2 separate regions of the Homo sapiens genome follow, and region 1 is linked to region 2. The links are contacts of gene promoters, found by promoter capture Hi-C in human tissues and cell types (Jung and others, 2019). All regions are on one chromosome and are shown on one strand. Each heading gives the region's core, a stretch centred on a gene start or on the middle of the fragment in contact. The rest is flanking DNA. Distances are from core to core; before and after follow the strand shown.

Evidence for each region. The method cuts DNA at HindIII sites, captures the fragments that hold promoters and counts their contacts. A contact is called where the count stands out against the background at its distance.
Region 1: a contact is called between a fragment that was not itself captured here and the fragment with the promoter of SLC19A3 in region 2, in 1 of the 25 tissues and cell types used here (aorta).

What each region holds. Positions count from the first base shown.
Region 1 is chr2:227,474,114-227,480,869 of GRCh38, reverse strand. The region is part of intron 1 of AGFG1 (ArfGAP with FG repeats 1); the gene reads right to left. Among named protein-coding and RNA genes, the nearest start is that of AGFG1, 5.3 kb to the right of the region's middle. The HindIII fragment of the contact is 5,033 bases long and covers 782-5,814 here.
Region 2 is chr2:227,713,881-227,720,226 of GRCh38, reverse strand. SLC19A3 (solute carrier family 19 member 3) reads left to right here and starts at 2,199. Exons shown (of 6, transcript NM_025243.4): 1 at 2,199-2,284. RefSeq lists an enhancer at 1,782-2,668. The HindIII fragment of the contact is 9,813 bases long and covers 1-6,346 here.

The sequences.
Region 1 (6,756 bases), core at 2,049-4,548, 240 kb after region 2:
TGTAGGCAAACTAATTTTTAAAAAGAAGGCAGAATAAAACATTTTCAGCTTTGTGGCTTTCAAAAATGACCTCTCATTCACCTTTCATCAGGAGGCTAACGGAAATGTTGGGGGTCCTGGAAACAGAGCATCTAACATAGGTTACAAGTGAAGGGAATTTCCAGAATGAAGATAGAAGAAAAGTTCTGGTATGAGAGCCGCACAGCAGGCCTAGACAGCAGCATTTCCAGAGCAGAAGATTATAAAAGTACCCAGAAACAGTTAAAAAAAAAAAAAAAGTAGCTGATGCATCTGATCATATTGAAGGAAGTTCATTGCAGCTCATGCCTGTAATCCCAGCTACCAGGGAGGCTGAGGCAGGAGAATCACCTGAACCTGACAGATGAAAGTTGTAGTGAGCTGAGTTGGCGCCACTGCACTCCAGCCTGGGAGATGGAGTGAGACTCCATCTCAAAAATAAAATAAAATAAAATAAGAAATATGGAAAGACAAGAATTTTTGGAATCTGACAATTACAAGGAAAATTCCTCTTTCCTTTTCTGAACATACACTGTTTCTCCATAACTTACAAACACTGGTGTTGCATCTCCCCCTAGAGTCGTAAAAATAAATGTATTACCTCTCCCAATGCCTTAAATTACCCAATGACAGTGATCATGTGTACAGCTCCCCCACTGTCTAATCTTTTCTTCTTTAAGCTAGTAGCATTTTTGGTTCCTGCAAATGTTCCTCTAATACATAGTTTCAAACTTCCTTACCATCTTGATCAGATTCCTTGGAGCATGCTCCAGTTTGTTAACATTCCTCTTAAAACAAGCAACCAGAATAAAAGTAAGGTATAATTATGACCTCTACAAAACATGTATGGTGTCAATCAAAAAGATTGCTATCTTAGTCAGAAGTCTTTGAGCAAAGTATGTTCTAACACAAACAAAAATTAATTCTCTGTATTTCAAACAACTCAAATAAGTTTCCTGTCCCCACTGAATAGCTCATGAATTTCATTCTAATGTTCAATCAGGTGTCTTTAGCAATAGTTCTCGTGTGTAAGGTTGTAAAAAATGTCACAAGGAACATGCTATTAATGTAAGTACTCAAAGTTATAACTGATTTTAAAACGTTTTTACATACATTAAAGGTATCCAAGTTGTATTTCCCTAGACAATCATCACTTTGATTTGAATTAGAAAACACATTCAAGTGGGGGAAAAAATGAGGGGGAGTAGTAAAACCTAGTCCCGAATATTTCCATAGGAGTTTCTCACAAATGTGAACATCATGCACGCTGCACAGAAAAGAAGGAAAATATCAAATAAGGAGATTTGCCTGTTTTCCAAAGAATGCTATTGGAACAGATACAGAGGTTTCTAAAAAGACAATGATTTTCAAATTGAGATCCAGAGGTCGGCAAGTTCTTTTAAAACAATGTCTTAATTCTTTTCATTTATAATGCACTAATATTATAAAATTTAATGTAAATTTAATCTAAACTGTATTTTATCCACTTTGAAACTAAAAGCCAGTGTTTAAAAATCACATGCCAAAAATGATGGATGAATGAATAGGGAACAGAAAAAGGCTTAACATGGCAATAATGCCTTTATACTCAGTTATGGTCAAATGATGTCACCACAACCTGAATGCTGGAGTTTTCCCAGTATAAAAGGTACCCACAGCACTATACAGAAGAGTCCTTCTTATCCAATTTGCTGGTTAAATCTATGTTTCTCCTTCCCTCTGAGAAACCTAAAGTTAATGCCTACTGCACAATGAACATTCATGGCTAGAAGGCCACTTTCTCCTGCTCCTCTCTCAGGAGAGAGTGAGTTTTATGCTTATCAAAATTTGTCTGGTATAGTATTTGGTAATATAGTTGGTACAGTACTTGGTAAGTATATAGTTTAAGTGAATGTCATGTAAAACAATGGCATGAGTGAGAAGAATTATTTCCATGTAAACTAAGTATTTTTAGAGACTAAAACAAGTCACTAGGATAAGCTGTTATTTGACCATGGAAAAGAACTGTAAAAGACTGAGAGAAAAATCATAAAAATCTAGAAGAATTCAGCATTCAAACTGTTTTATAAGTACATTAAAATGCTAAAAATCATAAATAGTACAGCATGAGTCTGGGTTATATTAGGGGACAAAGAATCTAATCAGTGGACCCATATTCAAAGCCTTATGTGCCAGCAAATTAACAGTTGTATGTTAAAATTTAAAAACCTAAGCTTGAGGCAGGGCATGGTAATTCACGCCTGTAATCCCCACAATTTGGAAGACCAAGGTAGGAGGATTGCTTGAGCCAGGAGTTGGAGATCAGCCTGGGCAACATGGCGAAACCCCATCTCTACAAAAATTAGCTGGGCATGGTGGCACGCGCCTGTAGTCCCAGGTACCTGGGAAGCTGAGGTCGGAGGATCACCTAAGCCTGGGGAGGTCAAGGCTGCAGTGAACCATGATAATGCCACTGCACTCCAGCCTGGGCGACAGAGTGAGACCCTGTCTCAAACCAACAACAAAACCCAAACAAACAAAAAAACCTATGCTTGCTAAATATATATATTATATATGTATATATAATAGATACATGTATATGTATGTGTGCATGTATGTATTTTTTTTTTTTTACTGATTGCTTGCTTTAACTGAATTTTTTGATAAACTTATCCACTATCAAACTTGACTGCATACAATGAGGGGTTCTAATTAGAATTCAAATATAAAAAATAGCACGAGAATTACGGCACATGGTAGTATGCACATGCCAAATTGAAAAGAATCGCTGTTGGAACGGCACCATCATTCCCATTGATTTCAGAATACACAACAGTATTTTCTCAATGAAACTCAAAAATAAGAACACACATTTTGGAGCTAAGAAGTTCCCTAAAAATAATAAAAAGCATGACACAGCCATAAAACAAACATTTATGATGCATCATAAAATATCTATTCTGGGCTGGGCATGGTGGCTCATGCTTGTAATCCAAGCACTTTGGGAGGCCGAGGTAGGTGGATCACCTGAGGTCAGAAGTTCAAGACCAGCCTGGCCAACATGGTGAAACCCCATCTCTACTAAAAATACAAAAAAAATTTAGCCAGGCATGGTGGTGCATGCCTGTAATCCCAGCTGCTTGGGAGGCTGAGGCAGGAGAGTCGCTTGAACCTGGGAGGTGGAGGTTGCAGTGAGGTGAGATCGCACCACTGCACTCCAGCCTGGGTGACGAGTGAAACTCCGTCTCAAAAAATAAAAACAAAAAAAAGAAAAAGTCTTTTTTCTGCCATTTGAAACACAATGAAGTAAAATCTACCATTTAAATCCCCAAAATATAGAATTCACAACAATTTACGGTAACCATGGTAACCATACATTCTTTGGTGGTGGAATCAGCATCAGTTCCAGATCCCAACTTCTAGCAGGTTATAACAGCAAAACACTAAGAGTGTGCACTAATTTTACAACTTAAAGTTGAGCTTGGATAATAGTACCTTCCTCACATCACTGTTACTAGAATGTCTGTCACACAGCTAGCACTCAATAGTTTTTTCTTTTTTTTCAATAAATACTTTAACTGTTGTATCTCCAGCACATGGGCTAGTATCTGGCACTTAATAAATATTTGCTTAAAATAAAAAATTTGTCCTTCACAATTGAAAAAGTATCTAGGCCAGGCGAGGTGGCTCATGCCTGTAATTCCAGCACTTTGAGAGGCCAAGGCGGTGGATCACCTGAGGTCAGGAGTTTAAGACGAGCCTGGCCAACATGGCGAAACCCAGTCTCTACTATAAATACAAAAACTAGCCGGGCATGGTGGCGGGCGCCTGTAATCCCAGCTACTTGGGAGGCTGAGGCAGGAGAATGGCTTGAACCCGGGAGACAGAGGTTGCAGTGAGCCGTGATCGTACCACTGCACTCCAGCCTGGGTGACGGAGTGAGACTATGTCTCAAAAAAAAAAAAAAAAGAGAGAGAGAGAAAGTATAAAATATTTTGGCCACTTACTCTAAATACTTAACTGAATGTGGCCATATCAGAGTATCCAAAAAAAGTAAAAAAGGAATTAAGAATATAAATCCCTGCTCACTGTGACCTCACAAGGTCCTGAATATTATACACAGAGCTCCAAAAGAGCATCTGATTTGCAATCCATCCTAATGCTACTAATTGTATAAAAACATTAAATACCTCTTTTCATCTGTCATCTAAAAAAAATTAAAATTCTTGTAACATTCATCTCAAGAGTCAATGTACACAGAATCAACAGAATATAAGTTACTATCCAGCTACATTTATTACCTGTGAAATTTCAAGCTTAAATGCACTGTCCACATAAAATAGATGGTATTAAAGTGGCAACCTCTTTCTCAAATGTTATTTTTTATTTTATCTAAACCCTCACTGAAAAATTTATGGATCACTTTTTAAGGCTAGGACAATCTTTTATATTACATATCAATTATACTAATGTTTATAGTCTCCATAAAACAAATAATTTAGTCTAAAACTAGTCTTTAAATCAACTAGAAGTTATTTAACATGAAGGCCATTTTTACTGTTGGCTATATTTTAAATGTCTGAAGTGTCCATTCAGAATTTTAGGGATTTCCATAAATACAACCAGAAAGACAGTGAAAGATAGTGACAAACCAATCAGTTAGGATGCCTTCATCATTCTGCCTCAGTAACAAATAGTTTAACTGCATCTAACTCTGAAGTTCATTTTAAAGTTTTACAATCTAAATTCAGTTACACTCTGAATGAACATCATTCAAGCATATAGGACAGTCATCTGAAAAAAAAGAAACAAGAAAGATTAGCTCCAAGTCTAGTAACATTAACAACAAGATGCTAGTTCAATTTATTTTAAAAAAAGGTATTAGTATAAATGATAGAAGGTATGTCACTATCCTAAAATTTAGAATTCATGATAGTGGATACTATTTGCTATGTATTCATATTTTCCAGGTAAATCAAGGAACGGCAGCTAGCATGCCTTATTTCAATATTTGTAACTCCAGTGCTTAGCCCTATCCTCAAATACGGTATGTGCTCAATAAGTAAATACAGTAACGATGTGTATCATTGAATCCTCTTAACAACCCTGAGCTATATGATATCTTCTTAACATAAATAAAGAAACTGAGGCTACAAGGATGGATCTGGGCCAATCTGCATGTAGTGGCCTAGCATAACACCTTGCCCTAAGCCACGAAGCTAGTAGCATTGTCAAAATCTGACTTCAAAATTCATATTCTTTCAATTATACCATGTCATCTAAACATCAGATACATAATTATTAAACCCAAGAGTTATATTATTCTTCCTAAATTATTTTCCTGCACTATTGCTTGTCAAAGAAAAAAATCTTCAGAAGCTATTGTCCCTCCAACGTTCTGCAGTAGACATTTGATGGTTGCCACTCTAGTCTTCATTCCCTACATCCCAAGAATTCTAGATTTCAGATTTGGGAACTCTATTTGGGGATCCTTGTGACAATGAAGTCAGGTTAGAACATGTGTCCAGTTGTGGCATGATCTAAGCTAACCCAATCAGAGGGAAATGCAGAACTTCTGAAAGTATTGGACCAACGACATAATTAAGGCAGTATACCCAGGAGCTGGGGACAACCATGCTCGAATGAGGAAAATCTAGGCAATATTATTAAGCCACTGTATAGTTTTACTTTAAAATCAATCAATAAACCCTTCATATTTTTAAACCAATTAGATTCCGGTTTTGAGTTACAACCATAAAATCCAAAGTGACAGATTTTTATTAGGATATTTCTTATTTAATATCTTTCACATACAGTACTGTTCCCTTACTCATGGCATGTCCTCTTCCTTGATGCTTCTCATCTATAGGGCACTTGCTATATACCAGGCATTACGTGAGATGTTTAACATACATTATTTTTAATACTGAAAACAAATCTACATCCAAAACTTACAAGGGAAATCTTATCCTCACTGTTTCATATAAGAGAAAAATCAAGCTCAAATAGATTGAGTGACATTCTCAATACCGTATAACTAATACTTGGAGTCAGGATTCAAAGCCATGTGTACCTAGCTCATAAGTACTTGATCTTTCAAACATATGAAGCAGAATTTCTCGTTAAAGGTCTTTGCTCAGGCATCAACTCCCAGAGAAGCTGTATCATTTACATATTTCCTGGCTATCTCATTCACAGAAAGGAAATACTACAATATATTGTAACTCTACGTTTACATACTTACAAGGCACGCTCCATAGAACAGTTAAGATCCAGGTAACTTATGACACAGGACAAGTAGGCAATAAATATTTGTGGAATGACTCAATAGAGAAATGAAGTCCTATCTGCCACAGATTAAGTTCCATTAAGATAAATAATTGTCATTATACTGAGATATCCTTTTATGCACAATGTTTCTGAAATGTGGTATCTAGGAAGAAATTTGAAAATATGTCCTTGATATTACACATTTGCTGCTGTACTTACAGGGACTACACAGAAATGTCAGAAATCCGGAAGTGTAAATATATGTATTTTTTCCAAATCAAATACTTTACATGGATTAAAGGACCTGTGTTTAGTAAAAGCAGGACATACATCTTAACCATGTAATAAAAATCAAATACAATTACAATTGTTCTATTGGCTTCATTTTGGAACCAATATTGTCCAACGTAAGTAACAACTTTCTAGCTTAACTCCTTTTTCTGTAAATGAAATGCATGAACCAGGCTACCTCCTTGATATCACCTAGCT
Region 2 (6,346 bases), core at 950-3,449:
ATTATGGAAAATAAACATATACAAAAATGGAAAATAGTGCAATCAGTTTCTAAGAACTACTGCCCAAGTCAACAATAATCAACACACAGCCAATCTTTTGTCATCTATGACCCCATCCACAGCCTTCTCCCCACACAGTCGTATGGGATCAAACTCAAATGTCATGTCATGTAATCTGCAAATGTGTCATTTATGTTTCTATGCATGAATGAATGAATTCCTCAATATCTCTCTCTGATTTAGACTGTGGCTATGAGATATTAGAGAATCAGAGTAAACTTCTCAAGGTCCAATTTGAACTCATTTTCTTCAAGAGGTGTGAAGGAAATCATGACACCTTCAGCCTTTAAGAAAATTTCACAATATTCTTTGGGAGGACCCAGCAATTTGCAAGGTTGCACAATGAGCAGGGCACTCCTACACCTAAGGTTCAGCTCAGGACTTTTCACAAATCATAGGAAGATGAAAATAGAAAACGCAGAGTCGTAGGACAGAGAACCAAGACACCTCGGGGTGTTTTAATCCATTTCACTTCCACTGGTAGCCCTTAGAAGCCACGCAGTGTTTATCTTTAGGGAGGGTTTTTCAAGTCCACCAAGAGATGAACAGAAATAAAAATATTTTTTCCATTTTAACCAATAAGAACCTTGTAATGCTTTAAAAAAATTCTCTGTTTAATAAGAAGTTTCACTTTAATATATAAACTCTTTGCAGGCTAAGCGTAGTGGCTCATGCCTGTAATCCCAACACTTTGGGCGGGCAAGGCAGGAGGATCCTTTGAGCCCAGGAGTTCAAGACCAGCCTGGGCAAGATAGTGAGACTCTGTCTCTACCAAAAAAAAAAAACAAAAAAATTAATGTGACGTGGTGGCACCCACCTGCAAGCCCAGCTACTTGGGAGGCTGAGGCAGGAGGATCAGTGTGCCTGGGAGATTGAGGTTGCAGTGAGCTGGGGTTGCACCACTGCACTCCAGCCTGGGAGATAAAGTGAGACTTTGTCAAAAAAAAAAAAAAAAGAAAGAAAGAAAGAGAAAAGAAAAGAAAAGAGGCCAGGTGGCCGGGTGCTGTGGCTCACACCTGTAATCCTAGCACTTTGGGAGGCCGAGGCGGGTGGATCACCTGAGGTCAGGAGTTTGAGACCAGCCTGGACAACATGGTGAAACCCCATCTCTACTAAAAATACAAAAATTAGCTGGGTGTGGTGACGGGCGCCTGTAATCCCAGCTACTAGGGAGGCTGAGGCAGAAGAATTGCTGGAACCCGGGAGGTGGAGGTTGCAGTGAGCCAAGATCGTGCCATTGCACTCCAGCCCGGGGCCAACAACAGCGAGGCTCCATCTCAAAAAAAAAAAGAAAGAAAGAAAGAAAGAAAAAAGACCAGGCGCGGTGGCTCACGCCTGTAATCTCAGCACTTTGAGAGGCCGAGGCAGGCGGATCACGAGGCCAGGAGTTCGAGATGAGCCTGGCCAATATGGTGAAACCAAACCCCGTCTCTACTAAAAACACAAAAATTAACTGGGCGTTAATTTTTGGAGGCTGAGGCAGGAGAATCGCTTGAACCCGGGAGGCGGAGGGTTGTAGTGAGCCGAGATCGCGCCACTGCACTCCATCCTGGGCGACAGAGGGAGACTCTGTCTCAAAAAAAAAAAAAAGAAAGAAAGAAAAGAGAAAAGAAAAGAAAAAGAAGAAGAAAAGAAAAAATTGTTTGTATCAGATTTTCAAAGTGCCAGGAAACCATCCCACTCTACCTCCTTTAAAAAAAAAAAGTGCAGAGTGATTATAACCACTGGCTCTGGAGCCAGGAGCCCCAACTAAAACCCAGGCTTCTCTATTTACTAGGCCTACTTCCTTCCGCCTCACTTTCTTCATGTGTAGAGTGGGGGTGACAGCCAGCCAGCCCTCTCTCCTAAGCTTTTGGAGAGAAATAAATGGATTCATAAGAAAGGACATATTTGTAAATAAAGCAAACGATCGCTGTTGGATTCAGGCCCTCTTGCTTCATTATGCTGAATGTCAGTGTATTACTTAAGTTGTTCCTTTCAGCAGAGTTGACTGTTTCTGCCCAGAAAACCGGCCCTGGGCCAGGAAAATCTGGGCTTCCACACTGGGATGAAAGGTCTGGACGCCCGGATTCGCATATGCAAAGCGTGGGGGCGTGGCCCCGGGCTCCGGGCCAGGCAGGCTCCGCCCCCTTCCCACCAAGAGCGCCTGGATCCATCCGACAGCCGCGGGTGCGTGGTCGTGCGGCAAGTGAGCGATTTGGTGAACAGACACTCCCTTCTGTAGGTAAGAATATCTCGGGGGGCGAATTAATTGAAGAAGCACCGTCATCCCTCGGTCTTAGCAGTGTCGCCTCTCTCTTCCCGGGTTTGGAGAGCTGGGGGCGGGTTCCTGGCTCTGCGGGCCTGGGCTACACTCTGAGCCGCGTGAGGAGCTCTCCCCCTACGCCGCAGCCCGCGTGCTGGGATTCACCCAAGTGGGTTTGTCTGGAATTCCCATTTGCAGCCTTCTGGAAGCGCAGATTAAATAAAATCATGATTCCCGTAAAGTGCCAGCACCTCCTATGGTTACATCCCACGTTCACAGATTTTAACTGAAAAGGCATTTTAGCATAGAATTCCAAATTCCAATCCAAGGATGGAGAAAAGGTCCTTCCTAGTGGGAAAAAGGAAGGTGAGTTTGAATTTAAGAGAGCAGGGGCTTTTTTGGGAACCACTTGAAATTTAGTTAATTGAAACTAAAAGAAAACGCAACTACACCTTACAAAAACACTGCTGGAAAGGATACCTAAGTCATCAAATAATAAATAGTGTGACAGCTGTTTACCAAATCAATGTCGCTGCCGCAAATGTGCAAAAGGTTGGGACTTTCGGAGTGCTTCAAGTTTGAAAAAGGTAAAGGAATAATGTTTTCTAAAAGTACTCTCAGGCCAGGCGCAGTGGCTCACGCCTGTAATCCCAGCACTTTGGGAGGCTGAGCGGGGCGGATTGCTTGAGGTCAGGAATTCGAGACCAGCTTGGCCCTGGGATGAAACCCCGTCTCTACTAAAAAGGCAAAAATTAGCCGGGCATGGTGGCGGGTGCCTGTAATCCCAGCTACACTGGAGGCTGAGGCTGAAGAATGGCTTGAACTTGGGAGGCGAAGGTTGCAGTGAGCCAAGATTGCACCACTGCACTCCAGCCTGGGCGACCCAGCAAGATTCTGCCTCAAAAAAAAAAAAAAAAAAAAAAAAAAAGCACTCTCATGTGTTTTGCTCCTATCAATATTGAAACATTGGTGTCTCCTGTGGCAAAAGGTGTTTTTTTCATCGAGGCACATATATTAAATAGACCAAAACATAACTTCCCAAATATCTTATAAGATTATCCTAGTAGTAGCTGAAATGGACAAAAATACCAATTTCCTTCAGTCATTATTGCTAATAGACCAACAACACTCTTTTAAGGTTGTGTAATGGTAAATGCATACACATTTATTTAACATGCACACAGGGAGAATCAGAGTGATTGATTACCCACCCTGCAACATGTCTCAGAAGCTTATAGACTACCCTGGCAAATGAGGTTACGGGAGGGAGCCGAAGAGCATCCAGCAGAAGTGGATGGGCTTCTGCTAGGGAGCATGAATGGGTCAGGGGAGAGAATAAGCTACATTATCTTGTGAATGGGTCTGTTCAGGTGTGGGGTATATTCTTGGTCTTACAGGGAAGGGAAAAGAAACAGTTGTTCCTTTTGGTGGGTCTGGATCTTAGGCAGACAAAGGTTTTTTTGAGCTGGGAGCCGGGAAGGTCAGAGAGACCTTGAGGTCTCCAGCATGTCAAAGCCCCATATTTTGGGGTATCGGCTTCTGAGTCCCGGCACTTATTAGTGACGAAACTGATGAGTCTGTAGTAGCCAGATCAAAGAAGAACCCAAAGAATGGGTACATTCGTAGATCAGGAATATTGAATAATGAAATATAGATCAGGAATATTGAAACTGGTTTTCCATGGGGGAAAGGAAGACTGTTGTCCTTCATGGGATAAACCTTATTTGCATGTCTATAGACAATAATTACTTAACATTGCCATCAGTTGTTAAAATTTACAGAGTTGTAAAATAGCTCAAATGACCTCTAATTTTTCTTTAATCCAGTTTTTTCCCTACAACACCACCTTCTCTCAGTGCATTTAATCAGAAACTTTCACTGCATCTCAAGGATTAGATGTCAGCTGACTTTCCTTTTTTGTTTTGTTTTGTTTGGGGTTTTTGAAATTTTTTTTTTTTTTTTTTTTTTTTGAGACGGAGTCTCGCTCTTGTTGCCCAGGCTGGAGTGCAGTGGCTGGGATCTCGGCTCACCGCAGCCTTGACTTTCCCTGTTCAAGCAATCTTCCCACTTCAGTCTCCCAACTACCTGGCACTATAGGCACACACCACCATGCCTAGCTAATTTTTGTATTTTTTATAGAGGTGAGGTCTCGCTATTTTGCCCAGGCTGGGCTCAGTTGACTTTCTAAGCCGTTTTATGTTTTTCTTAGTTTTATGGTTTTCTTAGGCATATTCCTCCTGCTCTCCCTAAGACTAGATTGATCTGAACATAGACATAACAGAATAAACAGAATTTGGAAGGAAATGATTAATTTACCAGCAAACACCTCATGCAAATTAAAAGGAATGGTACCATATATGATAAAATAAAATCTGAAGCATCTTAAAGATCACTTGGGCTGGGTGCGGTGGCTCACACCTGTAATCCCAGCACTTTGGGAGGCCAAGGCAGGCGGATTTCTTGAGGCCAGGAGTTCAAGAGTAGCCTGGCCAACATGGCAAAGCCCCATCTTTACTAAAAATAAAATTTTAAAAATATCACTTGTTTCTGCTCTTACAAAAACAAACAACAGAACTATTCTGGCCCACATACTGAATATCTGGGTCTAGTTTACGTCTTTGGAAGTTGTGTGGCATGCTTTATTTCAGCAAAGATTTTTTTTTGGGGGGGGTGTGGGGTTTGACATAAAGGATTATAGATGGGTGATAAGGCTACTTTGTAGTTTTTTGAGAGTCTAGGTCACTTAGCACAAAATTCTATAGAAGCTAAATTAGGTGACTTTAGTAAGAATAGTCAGGGCAAGGCCAGGCACGGCGGCTCACACCTGTAATCCCAGCACTTTGAGTGGCTGAGGCGGGTGGAGCACTTGAGGTCAGGAGTTCAAAACCAGCCTGACCAACAAGGCAAAACCCTGTCTCTACTAAAAATACAAAAATTAGCCAGGCCTGGTGGCGGGTGCCTGTGGTCTCAGCTACTCAGGAGACTGAGGTGGGAGAATCGCTTGAACCCAGGAGGCAGTGGTTGCGGTGAGTGGGGAGATTGTGCCACTACACTCCAGACTCCAGCCTGGGTGACAGAGGGAGACTCTGTCTCAAAAAAAAAAAAAAAAAAAAAAAGAATAGTCAGGGAAAGGTGTTATTCATGTATTTATCTCTCTAATCACTTGTATTTCAGAAAGATCTGGATCTGGGTGTCTGCTTTTTTTTTTTTTTTTTTTTGGATGGGATTTCAAATGTCATCGGCTGCAGAAGAGGGTGGGCCCCAGTACATAAAGCCACCAGAAGTGGATGGGCTTCTGCGTATAAAGCTATTGCTCTTGGCAGCTCTGTCTGAAGGAGGAGGACAAGAGACTCCAGGGTATGGAAAGGGATTTTCATAGTGGCGGGCAGCAGGAAGGAGCAGAAGTTGGACCTGAAGGCAGGAAGCCAGCTTGGTTCTAGAAAGAAAGAAACTGGGGGCACAGAAAAAAACAGGTAACTCAAGGGATCCTCCTGCCTCAGCTTCTGAGATTCAGATTCTATCTGTATTAACTGAAAAATGTTATATGTGGCCAGACTTACAAGGTTTATTGCCCTGTCCTAGCTTTGCGTTACGGGCACTGTTTTCATCAGAAATGTTCTGGGACAGACTCAGTTTCAAAGATCCTGTTCAGTTTTCCTATTATACGGAGGCCTTGCCCTGATGTGGACTTTAAATTTAAAATAGTCATTGCACCCCTAGAAAAGTCCAGAGCTACAGAGAGTTGTACACAGTAAAATGCTTTGGAGGAGGGAGAATAGGATGCATTTCTTTAAGTTGAGGTATAATCTACATACAAACAAAGATTTTAAGTGTTTATAATTGTATACACCCACATAACTATATCCCATCAAGATATAGGATATTTCATCAACCCAGAAAATTGCCTCCTGCCCTTTTACCATCAATTCTTACCCACCCCCACCTCCAAGATGACCGTAGTTGTGATTTCTATCAGCATGAAGTAGTTTCGGTTGTTTTGGACCTGGCGTAAATGAAATCTTCATGCTATGTCCTTTTTGT